Linked DNA regions of Homo sapiens: region 1 is linked to region 2. The links are contacts of gene promoters, found by promoter capture Hi-C in human tissues and cell types (Jung and others, 2019). All regions are on one chromosome and are shown on one strand. The core of a region is centred on a gene start or on the middle of the fragment in contact, and the rest is flanking DNA. Distances in the headings are between cores, read along the strand shown. Region 1 holds the start of LCN1 (lipocalin 1). Region 2 holds the start of PPP1R26 (protein phosphatase 1 regulatory subunit 26).

Evidence for each region. Contacts are between HindIII fragments. The study calls those that stand out against the background at their distance.
Region 1: the fragment with the promoter of LCN1 here is called in contact with the fragment with the promoter of PPP1R26 in region 2 in 1 of the 25 tissues and cell types used here (psoas muscle).

The regions. Positions count from the first base shown.
Region 1 is chr9:135,519,413-135,525,050 of GRCh38, forward strand. It overlaps LCN1 (lipocalin 1), which reads left to right and starts at 2,028. Exons shown (of 7, transcript NM_002297.4): 1 at 2,028-2,175; 2 at 2,635-2,765; 3 at 3,820-3,890; 4 at 4,468-4,578; 5 at 5,418-5,519. The coding sequence starts at 2,086. RefSeq lists an enhancer at 4,893-5,638. The HindIII fragment of the contact is 21,100 bases long and covers 1-5,638 here.
Region 2 is chr9:135,477,521-135,483,148 of GRCh38, forward strand. PPP1R26 (protein phosphatase 1 regulatory subunit 26) reads left to right here and starts at 2,262. Exons shown (of 4, transcript NM_014811.5): 1 at 2,262-2,502; 2 at 5,163-5,295. RefSeq lists silencers at 2,784-2,843, 2,854-2,903. The HindIII fragment of the contact is 17,940 bases long and covers 1-5,628 here.

The sequences.
Region 1 (5,638 bases), core at 778-3,277, 42 kb after region 2:
TCTTCTTTCTGGTCATTTTGACTTTTTTTCTCCTTTCCTGGATGATCTGCATTTCACTGTAATATTCTAGGAGTGGATTTCTCAATTTTGATCATTCCTTGGTAATTTAGATCTGGGGTGTCATCTTCATGTCTTTTCAATTCTGAAGAATTCTGAGCTATTCTGTTGCTTTGTTGCCATTTTAGAAAATGTTTTTCTTTCAGAACTCCTATTCTGTTTATATTGGAACCTCCTGATCTATTCTCCATGTGTGTTAACTTTGTGCATGTGTGTGCATGTGTGTATGTGTGTGAGTGTGCATGTGTGTGTGTATGTGTGCATGTATGTGCATGTATGTATGAATGAATGGTGTGTGCACGCGTGTATGTCTGCGTGTGTATGTGGGTGTGCATGTGTATGGGTTTGTGTGCATTTGTATGTGTGCACATGTGTGTGTGTGCATGTGTGTGTGCGTGTGTGTGCATGTGTGTGTGTATATCTCTGTGTGTTGTGTTTTCAGAGCTGCTGCACTCTAGTTGGTTTCCTCCACTCATTTTATTACTAGCTCCAGGCTGGAGACTGAATCTATCTGTAACACCTCAATTTCTCTTTTGAATTTTTCTGCTTTCATTGATTTTGTTAGTACTATCTTCCATGACACTAAGTCTCTTTTCTACTATGTCAAGTCTGGAATTTAACCTGTCTATTGAGTTTTTTATTCACTTTATTATTCATCTTCAAGATTTGTAATTATTTCTATTTCGTCTCTCCTTATTTCTTATATTCTGGCCAGTTCTAATTTTATACTTTATATATTTTTAAATCACTAGGCATCTTGATCATACTCCTGCAGTTTTAAAGTGTGTGTCAGACTTTCCTTGGCTGGTGTAAGTTCCTGTACCAATTGCTCATTTTTAGCCTGCCTTTCTTAGTGTGGTGTTTCCTTGGGTAATTTGGAACCTGGCCTTTCTAGCTTATTTCAAGGTGAGGATATTGTGTCTCTGCATTTCTGCCTTTCTCTGCCATCTTGTTGTCACTGTCCTCTGTCTAGCAGTGTTTTGTAGCCTCTGCTCCCATCCCGGGTCCCAGGCTTCTGCTCTGCAGTGATGCAGAGCATGTCACAGATAAAGTCATCCTTTCCAAGGACGGCTTGTCTCAGCTTCTGCCCTTGAGGCTGTGTTGATGTCCTCTTGCCTTCCTATGCCCACAGTGCTCCACTAAGTTATACGAAGTTACAGCCCTGGGATGTGTCAAGGAGGGTTTCTCAGCCTTCTTTCTGGAGTCAGGGAAGCCCCTCCCATCACTCCCAGGAGCCGGACCTAGGCCCTCTCTGCCTGCCTTGGGACTTGGAGCTGACAGGCCCCTGCCTCTGCCCCATCACCAGCCTGTGCTTCTCCTCCATTCCTTGTTTTATGTGAGTGTGTGTGCGTTTGTGCATGTATATATGTACACACATGCATACACACACACACACCTGTCTTGGTCTTCTGTCTGTCTGACCTATTGCTGCTCTGTGTGTGGAGCAGAGAGGGTCGTTACTGCACACCTTGCTCAGGACAGTGGACACCGTCTTTAAATGCACACGGGATCGTGTTCACACAGGAGGGTCCCTTTTTTTCCATGATGAATCTGAGGCCAAGTAACCTGCCCAGAGATGCAGGAAGCTCAGCTGAGCCCCAAGCCCACGGCCCTCGGACTCCAACCCCAAACCCCCTTGACAGTGTGCACGTCAGCAAGTGTGGGATGGCTGGGGGGCATCTGTTACGGCTGCACACGTCCCCAGGAGGCCTGCACACCCTTCACTCCCTTCAGTTTCCCTTCAGGTGAAATCTGCAAATCTGCTCCTCTGGACCTGGTCCTGTCCAAGTGATCCTCTGGGATTAACAAGCTGTTATTCACCAGCCTCCAACAATAATGGCAGGTTATCTGCTCCATTGCAGAACTGGCAGTGGTTTACATCCAGGAAGGGATTGGTCAGTCTCCTGTGCCAGGTCCCTGGGGGACCCTGAGCCCAGCGGTATAAAGGGCGGCTGTGGGAGGACTGGTACAGCCTCTCCCAGCCCCAGCAAGCGACCTGTCAGGCGGCCGTGGACTCAGACTCCGGAGATGAAGCCCCTGCTCCTGGCCGTCAGCCTTGGCCTCATTGCTGCCCTGCAGGCCCACCACCTCCTGGCCTCAGACGAGGAGATTCAGGATGTGAGGCCCGGATGGGAAGGCTGGGCTGGAGGGGGCAAGGGGCGAGGCTGAGACTGGATGGAGACCCCATGCCTCCTCCATCCAAGGAGACCCTCGTTTTTGGGTTGGGCATTCAAGCCCTGCCCTGAGGGAATGGTGGGATGGGGCAGCAGGGGTCTGGGCTGGCAGGGTAGGTGGCGCAGGGGTGCAGAGTGGGCAGGGCTGGGAGGGTGGGGGTCTGGCTGACTTCACTTCTTCCCTGGGGATGAGGGCTCCTGTGGTCCTGGCTGGCTTGTGGGGGCTGGAGCCACCTTCAAGTGGGCCTGGCGAGGGTGCTGGGTGTTTTCTGGGTGGGTTAGATTGGGGAACGTTCCCCGTTTCCAGCCCTCGGGGTGCGGTAGAGTCTAGGGGCTGCAGGCCAGGGAAGGGGGAGGCTCTGGAGCAGTCGGCCTGAGCCTGATAGAGAGGGGCCTTCTCCAGGTGTCAGGGACGTGGTATCTGAAGGCCATGACGGTGGACAGGGAGTTCCCTGAGATGAATCTGGAATCGGTGACACCCATGACCCTCACGACCCTGGAAGGGGGCAACCTGGAAGCCAAGGTCACCATGCTGTGAGTGTCTGCCAGCCGGCCGGGCAGCCTGCAACCTGGTCTAGGGCCTTCCCTTTCCCCACCCAGGAGAGCTCTGGTGCTGGGGAGGTGGGCAGACCTGCTGGGAGGCCTCTCTCGGCCCCTCCTGCAATGCTTGAGGGCAAACTGTGCCACTGAGGTGCCTCGGCTGGAGGGGCCCTGAGGGGGCAGAGGCCCCGGATCAGACCCTGTGGGCTACCAGTGGCAGCCCTGGGTACCGCCCACTTCCTCCTCCGACTAGGGAATGTCTGGTGACGTGCAGGCCCCTTTGGGAAAAGGTGTTTACCCCCGACCAGAGTCAGAGCCAGTCCTGGCAGTAAATTTCTGCTTTGGAGAAGTGCAGGGATGGGGCTTGCAGAATGACCAAGAGGGGGCATAGGAGAAGACACCATGGAGAAGACCCCCTTGAAATCCCTGTGTAGCGCTCACCTGTGCGGCTCTCACCTGGGCTGCTTCCACCCGCGTGGCTCACATCTGTGACTTCCCACCTGTGTGATTTCACCCGCATGGCTCCCTCCTGAGTGGCATGCAGTGCCTGTGCTCCGGTCCTGGGGGCTGAATCTCAGGAAGTCACTGACCCTGGCAATGACCCCGATTTTTTTTTCCCCCAAAGCCCCTCACTGAACCTTTCCCTCTCTGGGCCAGATGATGATGGATATGGGGCTTGTGCCTGAATGTCTCTAAAAGGAAGAATGCAGCTGGCGGGATGAGGCTCAGGCCCACGCCACAGACGCTGCCTGCAAACCAGGCAGCCTGGGTGCCTCTGGCAGGAAATGTGTTGGGGGCGGGGGGTTTGGGAAGGCAGCCACCAGGAGGAGCGGTGCAGAGCTCCTGGCCATCTCGGGAGACCCCGGGAACTGCCGCATGGGACCCGGAGGGGCCGCTGGTGCCTGGGTCTGAGATGCAGAGAAGCACCCTCCTCCATGGGCCTGTGGCAGACTCGGGGCCACATTTGCAGGGCATTGCAGCATGGTTGCTCCAGGGCCGGGGGAGGCACAGGCCAGGGCCGCTTTGCCAGGGGGCTTCTGTTTTCCAGGATAAGTGGCCGGTGCCAGGAGGTGAAGGCCGTCCTGGAGAAAACTGACGAGCCGGGAAAATACACGGCCGGTGAGTCCCGGGGCCTGAGCCAGAGCCTGAGCTTGAACACACGCTGGATGTGCGGGGGCAGCCAGTGCCTTTTTGGGGTGGCCTTTTGGCCTGGGAAGCCTTTTGCTGCCTTCTGACTCCACTAAAAGCCCACTCTCTTCTCCCACTGGTCAATTTGCATTAGAGACTTGAACACCTGACCCCAAACACCAGGTGTGGCAGGTTTGTCCCGGGGCGGACCCTCTGGGCTTGCCCTGTAGCCCTGGCTGTGGCTCTGGCAGGGCCAGGAGCAGAGTCGTATTTGGCTGCGGGGGGCTGTACCCCAACTCCCACCTCCGCAGACCTCATACCCGGAGGAACCCCCCGTGACTCACTGGTTTGGGATGTGGCCGCCTCTTGGGTACATCAGGTTCCTGGGAAGTGGGGGTCCCATGGCCTGGGGCTCAGGCCTGGTGGGGAACCTGGGTCAGGGAGCTCTGGGAGGCTGGGAGGGTGCAGGAGCTGCGGGGCTTGCTGGGCCTGGCAACGCACGCTGTCCCGGGATCCTCTCTGAAGTCCCTGGTGGCTAATTCAGGAATGTGCTGCTGTCTTTCTGCAGACGGGGGCAAGCACGTGGCATACATCATCAGGTCGCACGTGAAGGACCACTACATCTTTTACTGTGAGGGCGAGCTGCACGGGAAGCCGGTCCGAGGGGTGAAGCTCGTGGGTGGGTCCCGCACCCTCACCCTGCAACCCATGCCTCCACCTGCCCTCCCTCCTCCCTCGGCCTCCTGCACCCTCTTCCCCATGGGAGAAGCCACTGGGACCCAGGAACCCACTGCAGTTTTCTTAGGATGAGTTTTCCTGATAAAGGCCTCAATTCCCACCCCTGGAGTTCAGGATTTGGGATGCCCCGGCCTCGGTATCTGCAGCAGAGGCAGGAAGGAGCCACGGCTGCAGGCACAGGGGTTCAAAGGTCACACATGTCCCAGAGTGGGCCAGGCCCTCCCCCGGAGCAGCTCCCTGCAGTGTCATCCTTGAGCGCGTTCCTGTGGGGTGTCCAGCAGGAGAGAGGAACAGGGATGTGAGCAGAAGTCTGCATGGAAAGAACGTTCCAGCTCCCGGGGTTGAATTCCGGACGCGGTGCCTCCCACAGATGGTGACTCATCAGTGCTGTCCCTGTCAGAGGACGAGGCCCATGAAGGCTCCTGAGTTCTCCCTGGAGCCAGGGGTGTGCGAATGACAGAGGATTGGGATCCTGGTGCCCCCAAGGGGAGAGGCGCTTCCTCCAGGGTGGGCCTGTCGTGCCGTCCATCCTCACTCCGGGAGATGCTCAGGGATGGATGGAGAGCCCTTCCCGTTCTCCCGGTTCTGCTGCCACAGGAGCCTTCTCAGCCGTGCACGGCACCCTGGTCCCACTTTGCCAGCCTGAGGGCCTCTGGGTTCAATTCCCCCCACGGTGGGCGAGGTCCCCTTCCCCAGCCCAGCTCAGGCCTCCAGACTGGGATGGGGTGCCGTCGGCCCAGTGCTGCCTCGAGCACCCACATCTCGTCCTGGCACCCACAGGCAGAGACCCCAAGAACAACCTGGAAGCCTTGGAGGACTTTGAGAAAGCCGCAGGAGCCCGCGGACTCAGCACGGAGAGCATCCTCATCCCCAGGCAGAGCGGTAGGAGGCATGGCCCTGCAGAGCCCCCCATGTCCCCGCGTGGGGACATCAGCAGAGCTGCATTGCACGGGCGCATAACTGTGCTGCGTCTAATTCTGGCTTTGTCCTTCCTGGGGTGG
Region 2 (5,628 bases), core at 1,012-3,511:
GAGGATAACCTGAGCCGGGGGAGGTTGAGGCTGCAGTGCCATGATCACGCCACTACACTCCAGCCTGGGTGTACACAGAGTAAGACCCTGTCTCAAAAAAAAAAAAAAAAAAAAAAAAAGGTTGAACAAACAAAAAACCAAAATCCAAAGTCAAAAGAAAAATGACAGAAAAATAAATGCAATGTACAAGAGTATATTGTACTACTGTACAATATTCTGTGTTATTGTACTGTTGTACAATACACTTTTTTTCTGAGACAGAGTCTCGCTCTGTCACCCAGGCTGGAGTGCTGTGGCACCGTCTCGGTTCACTGCAACCTCCACCTCCTGGGTTCAAGCAATTCTCCTGCCTCAGCCTCCCGATTATCTGGGATTACAGGCACCCGCTACCACACCCGGTTAATTTTTGTATTTTTTAGTAGAGACGAGGTTTCATCATGTTAGCCAGGCTGGTCTCAAACTCCTGACTTCAGGTGATCTGCCCAACTTGGCCTCCCAAAGTGCTGGGATTACAGGGGTGAGCCGCCGCGCCCGACCATACATTGCATTTACGCTCTTGTACAGAGTAGCATACAGCACAGAGAAGAGCTAAATTCCTTACGGTAACAAGCTCTTAGAATCCCTAAGAAAAAGACACACAGCCCAACAGAAAAATAAAAAATGGGCAAAGAACACAGACAGGCAATATTCCAAATGGCCAATAATAAAATGAAAAGATGTTCAACATCACCAGCAGTCAAAGAAATTAGGATTCAAGTGATGAAAAGGGCTGTTTCGCCTATCAGACTGCCAAAGACATAACGCAATGACATATCTCAGGGCTGGCAAGAGGACAGGCAAGCGGGCATGCCCGCTCACCAGTGGGTGGACGGCAGGCTGGCCCCGCATTTCTGGAGGGCATTTTGGCAAAATGCAGCATAGTCTTTGGCCCGCCGGCCTCTTCTAGGGATTTGCCCGCAGGAAATGCTCAGAGCCGCTCTAAGGAGGCATCATGAAAGCTGTTCACCACAGCACTGTTTTAAAAACTGTGAAGCAGCATGCCAAAACCTTAACAGCCCATGTCTCTGGGAAGTCACCTTATTAATTAGATCATCTCCCCAAAGTTTGGTAATGAAAGAGTATTATTTCATGAGAAAAAAAAAATTGCTTTTTGAAAAAATTCACGAAGGCATTAAAACAATTCTTTAATGGGTTTCCTGACCCAAAACTGGCCCTCCAGCTTCCCAGGCTGGCATGACTAGAAGCACCCCTCCAAGGCAAGTCTCTGATTTTGATCCTATCAAATCTCTGACACTTTCTAGACAGGAACCGAACCCACAAATTCATCTCCCAGACACGTGTGGATCAGGGCCCAGGGGGCTTACAGAAGCAGCGCGGTGCCCCTGCGCACCATCTGCCCCTTCCACGAGTGGGCGCTGAGGGAGGATCCAGTCGGGTCTGCCCGTTCCCCGCCGCCCGGGGATGCTGAGCACACCCGGGCCACCGCCAGCCTCGGGCACACACCCTGGACCTTTTATAAAACAAAACTGGGAAGACTTTCAAGGTCACATGGTCAGTGCACAGCAGAAGCAGAAACAGCAGCGGCCTCAAGGTCCGGGGCAGTTCCTAGAAACTGTTCCCTCCCCCGAACCTGGCGGCAGGTGTGCTCGAGGAGCCGCCGCCCCGGGCAGGTCGTGCGTCCACTCCCCGCCGCAAGCTCGGGTGGGGCAGCCGCGGGGACACGCGGGGGCCGCCCCCGACCCCGGCCCAAGGCTGTGGGGCTGGAGGGGCGGGCGGGCCGGTCTCAGCCCGGAGCCCCGCGTGAACTTCGGGGAGGAACTCGGTTGGCGCCGGGGCCCCGCACGCTCCCTTCCCGCGGCTCCGAGCGCTTTCCCACGGCCACGCCCCCCGCGCCCAGAACTTCCCGGCGACCCCGCGCCCCCTGCGCGCCCCCCGGAGGTGGCCGCGGTACGGGAGGCGGGCAGCACGGGGCTCGGCCCGGCCCAAGCGCCTTCGCCCCGCACCCCGCGGAGGGGGCCGCGTCCGAACCGGGCGGGGCGGGGCGGGGGCGTCCCCGGGGCGCGGGCGCGGCGGCAGGTGGGCGCGCTCTCGCGGGCGGGGGTCCGGCCGGGCCGCGCGCCTCCCCCGGAACTCGGCCGTGCCATTCCCATGATGCCCAGCCACGGGCACGGCTTCCGGAGTGCGGCCGCCGCCGCCACCGTCCGGTAGGTCGCGGGGAGGGGGCGGCTTGGGGGGGTCGCCCCGCCCCCCGCCCCGCCCCTCCCCTCCCGCGCTTCCCACGGCGCGGCCCGGGCGCGGGGCGGCGGCAGCGGCGGCGCGCGGGGAGGCGGGGAGGCGGGGGGCCCGGCCGGACGCCCCTGCGCCCCCTCCCCGCGCCCCGGCCGAGGGCGGAGCGCGCTGGCCCTGCAGCCTCCGGCCCGCCCCCGGCCCGCCGCCTCCCCCGGGACGTGGGACGCGGGCGCAGGCGGGGTCCGCGCGGCGGGCGGCGGGGGACGGGCGGAGGTGAGCGGGTGCAGGGCCGGGGCCGGGGGGCTCGGGGGCTGGGAAGCTGGGGGGTCGGGGACAGGAGGGCCAGCCAGGCCGGGGCCGGCGCGCCGTGCAGGCCGCGGCGGGCGGGCGGCGGGGGCTCCCCGAGGCAGGCGGACGGGGATCGGCGCCGGGGCTGCTCCGTTCCCCGGGCGGGGATCCTGTCTCTGGCCTCCGTGCGACTCTCGGCCCGCGCGCCCCGCGCTCCTGGAGCCCCAGGTGAGGCGCAGGTGAGGGCCCGCGGTGGGGAGCTTTGGCCCGGCCCGGGGCGGCCGCTGCCCTCCGAGAATGGCCGCGGCCCGGCCGGCCTGGAGACTGCGGTTCACGCCCTGCGCCAGGCGGAGCTTCCGGGAGGGTGGCCGCTCTCCCGGGCCCCAAGCTCGCTAGTCCTCGGATCCCAGAAACATAACTCCGGGGGTGCAGACCTGCTTGGAGGCCCGGCCTCTTCCCTGGGAGGCGTTCACTCCCGCCGGGCCGAGGACCAGGTCGCCGATCCCAGCGGCTAGGGTGAGCGCGCCCTCGGGGAGGGGAGCTCCCTTGGGGGACCCTGCCCAGCCCGCAGGCCGTGAGTAGCCCAAGCTTGGGAGTCAGGGGAGGTCGGGCCGGGGCAGCCGGGAGGGGCTCACCTTGCCTTCAGTTCCCAAGCACAGGAAATGGCGGTGCAGCTTTGCTGGGGGACGCTTGTAGTGAGGTTGTAAAATTGCAGCTTCTGGAAGGCTGGGAGCTGAATTCTAGCCCACGCCCACTTCTGGGTGGCTGGAGCGGGTCCTCCTGCTGCCCCGCCCGCTCCTGCACCGGGGCTCCTCTCCCTGGCCTGCAGACCCTGGCCTCCCTACCCTGGGGGGAAACCCCACCTGGGAGGTAAGACCGCTGGCTGAGCTGCTTTTCGGCCAACCGAGAAATGTAGAGTATTTGGGGGCGTTTCTCACAGGTGGGCAGACTGTTAGGATGGCGAGGGCCCAGTGTGGGTGCTTTGGTTCTCTCCAGAAGGTTGATGTCTGGACCGAGAAGGTACCCGAGTGTTCTCCACCGCTTCCTAAAATCTGACACCGTGTGGCCTTGGGGTGCAGGTGCTGGGTGTCCCCACAGCCACCCTCAAGACCGTATCCTGAGGCAGCAATTTGACAAAGCCTGCACCTCTGGCTTGGGCCCACACCTATCTCTAAGGACTGATTAGGGGGCTTTTCTTGTTTTTTTTTTTTTTTTTTTTTTAGAGCCAGAGTCTCGCTTTGTCGCCCAGGCTGGAGTGCAATGGCTGATCTCGGCTCACTGTAATCTCCGCCTCCCTGGTTCAAGCGATTCTCGTGCCTCAGCCCCTGGAGTAGCTGGAACTACAGACGTGGGCTCCCACGCCCAGCTAATTTATGTGTTTTTAGTAGAGATGGGGTTTCGCCATGTTGGCCAGGCTGGTCTCGAACTCCTGGCCTCAAGTGATCCACCTGCCTCCACCTCCCAGAGTGCTGGGATTACAGGTGTGAGCCACTATCCCCGACCCAGGGGGCTTTTCAAGAATGATTCATCTCGCATAATGTTTTAAAGCCACAAGCTGTCCTGGGGAGACGACCCCCCTCGATTTTTTTTTTTCTTTCTGAGATGGAGTCTCGTTCTGTCTCCTAGGCTGGAGTGCAGTGGCGCGATCTCGGCTCACTGCAACCTCTGCCTCCTGGGTTCAAGCAATTCTCCTGTCTCAGCCTCCCCAGTAGCTGGGATTACGGGCACACGCCACCACGCCCAGCTAATTTTTGTATTTTTAGCAGAGGAGGGGTTTCACCATATTGGCCAGGCTGGTCTCAAACTCCTGACCTCAGGTGATCCACCTGCCTCAGCCTCCCAAAGTGCTGGGATTACAGGCGTCAGCCACTGCACCTGGCCAGATTTTTTAATACCATTCTTGAACTAGGTGATTTGACAACTTAGAAAACTGTTCACTGGGTGTCCAGGCCTTCTCTGCAACCAGTCAGAAGCTGTAAATGTGGCTAGTGGAGAACAGACTATTTCCCCAGGAAAACTCCCCTCCCCGACCTTGTCATCTAGTGTAAAGACACTGACTTGGGCCGGTTTTCTTAAGGTAGTATTTAAGGTAGTATTCTTAAGGTAGTATTGCTGTTTAAGGAGTCAATAGTCTTAATTTAGACGCTCCTCAGCCCAAGGCTAATGCAAATGTTTTGTCATTTATGTCATTTTGCAGAGGCAATTTGAATAACACCTACAGTAAGGCAGGCGTGGGTTTGCTAGCCAGTGAAAGAGCTCCTCTCGCATTGTTGGTCCCCCAGTGCTCTGTGTCAGTGGGGAATCTCTCCAGAAGGTGACTTTATGGGGGATGTCATGGGCTGCAGTGGGTGGCCAGAATTTGAGAACTAGCAGATAACGTCACATACGTGCCCCATCCCCATCACTTCAGCCAGCATCAGATCTGCTGTCCAGGATAGCTATACATTACTTGTGGTTAAATGTATTTGTCTTAATACATTAAGTTAAATATATTTGTACTTGTGGTTAAATGTCTTAGAGTAAGTTCCTTCAAAAGTTAATTTTGAGCCCTTAAGTTAATGATATTTCTTTCCAAAAAAAAAAAATTTATCAACTGTAGCTTCAGCCTGTAATTAGATGCCTCTGATTCTCTTTGATTCTGGTAGTCAAAAGTCTATTGAAAAAGCAGAGAGAGAATGCCTCGGTGTGTAAGTGGAGTGATGAGGACCTGATCTCTGGGCCGTGTGGGAACACTGGCTGCCATTTCATCACAGTCAACCTGGACTCACAGAATTTCAAGTAATTTCAAGTAATTCTTGTATTTTAGTTTCCCTTGTAGGGCACAAATTGGTGCTAGCAAATGACTTACTTCTGAATCTGTCTCACCCCCTGGTTAATTGCTGGTTACCCCTTTTGGGCTCACCTGTGTGTAGGTGGCCAGGCTCACCTTTTGTTTCTTTTTCTTTCTTTCTTTTTTTTTTTTTTTTTTTTGAGATGGAGTCTCATTCTGTCGCCCAGACTGGAGTGCAGTGGCATGATCTCAGCTCACTGCAAACTCTACCTCCTGGGTTCGAGCAATTCTCCTGCCTCAGCCTCCCAAGTAGCTGGGATTACAGGCATGCGCCACCATGC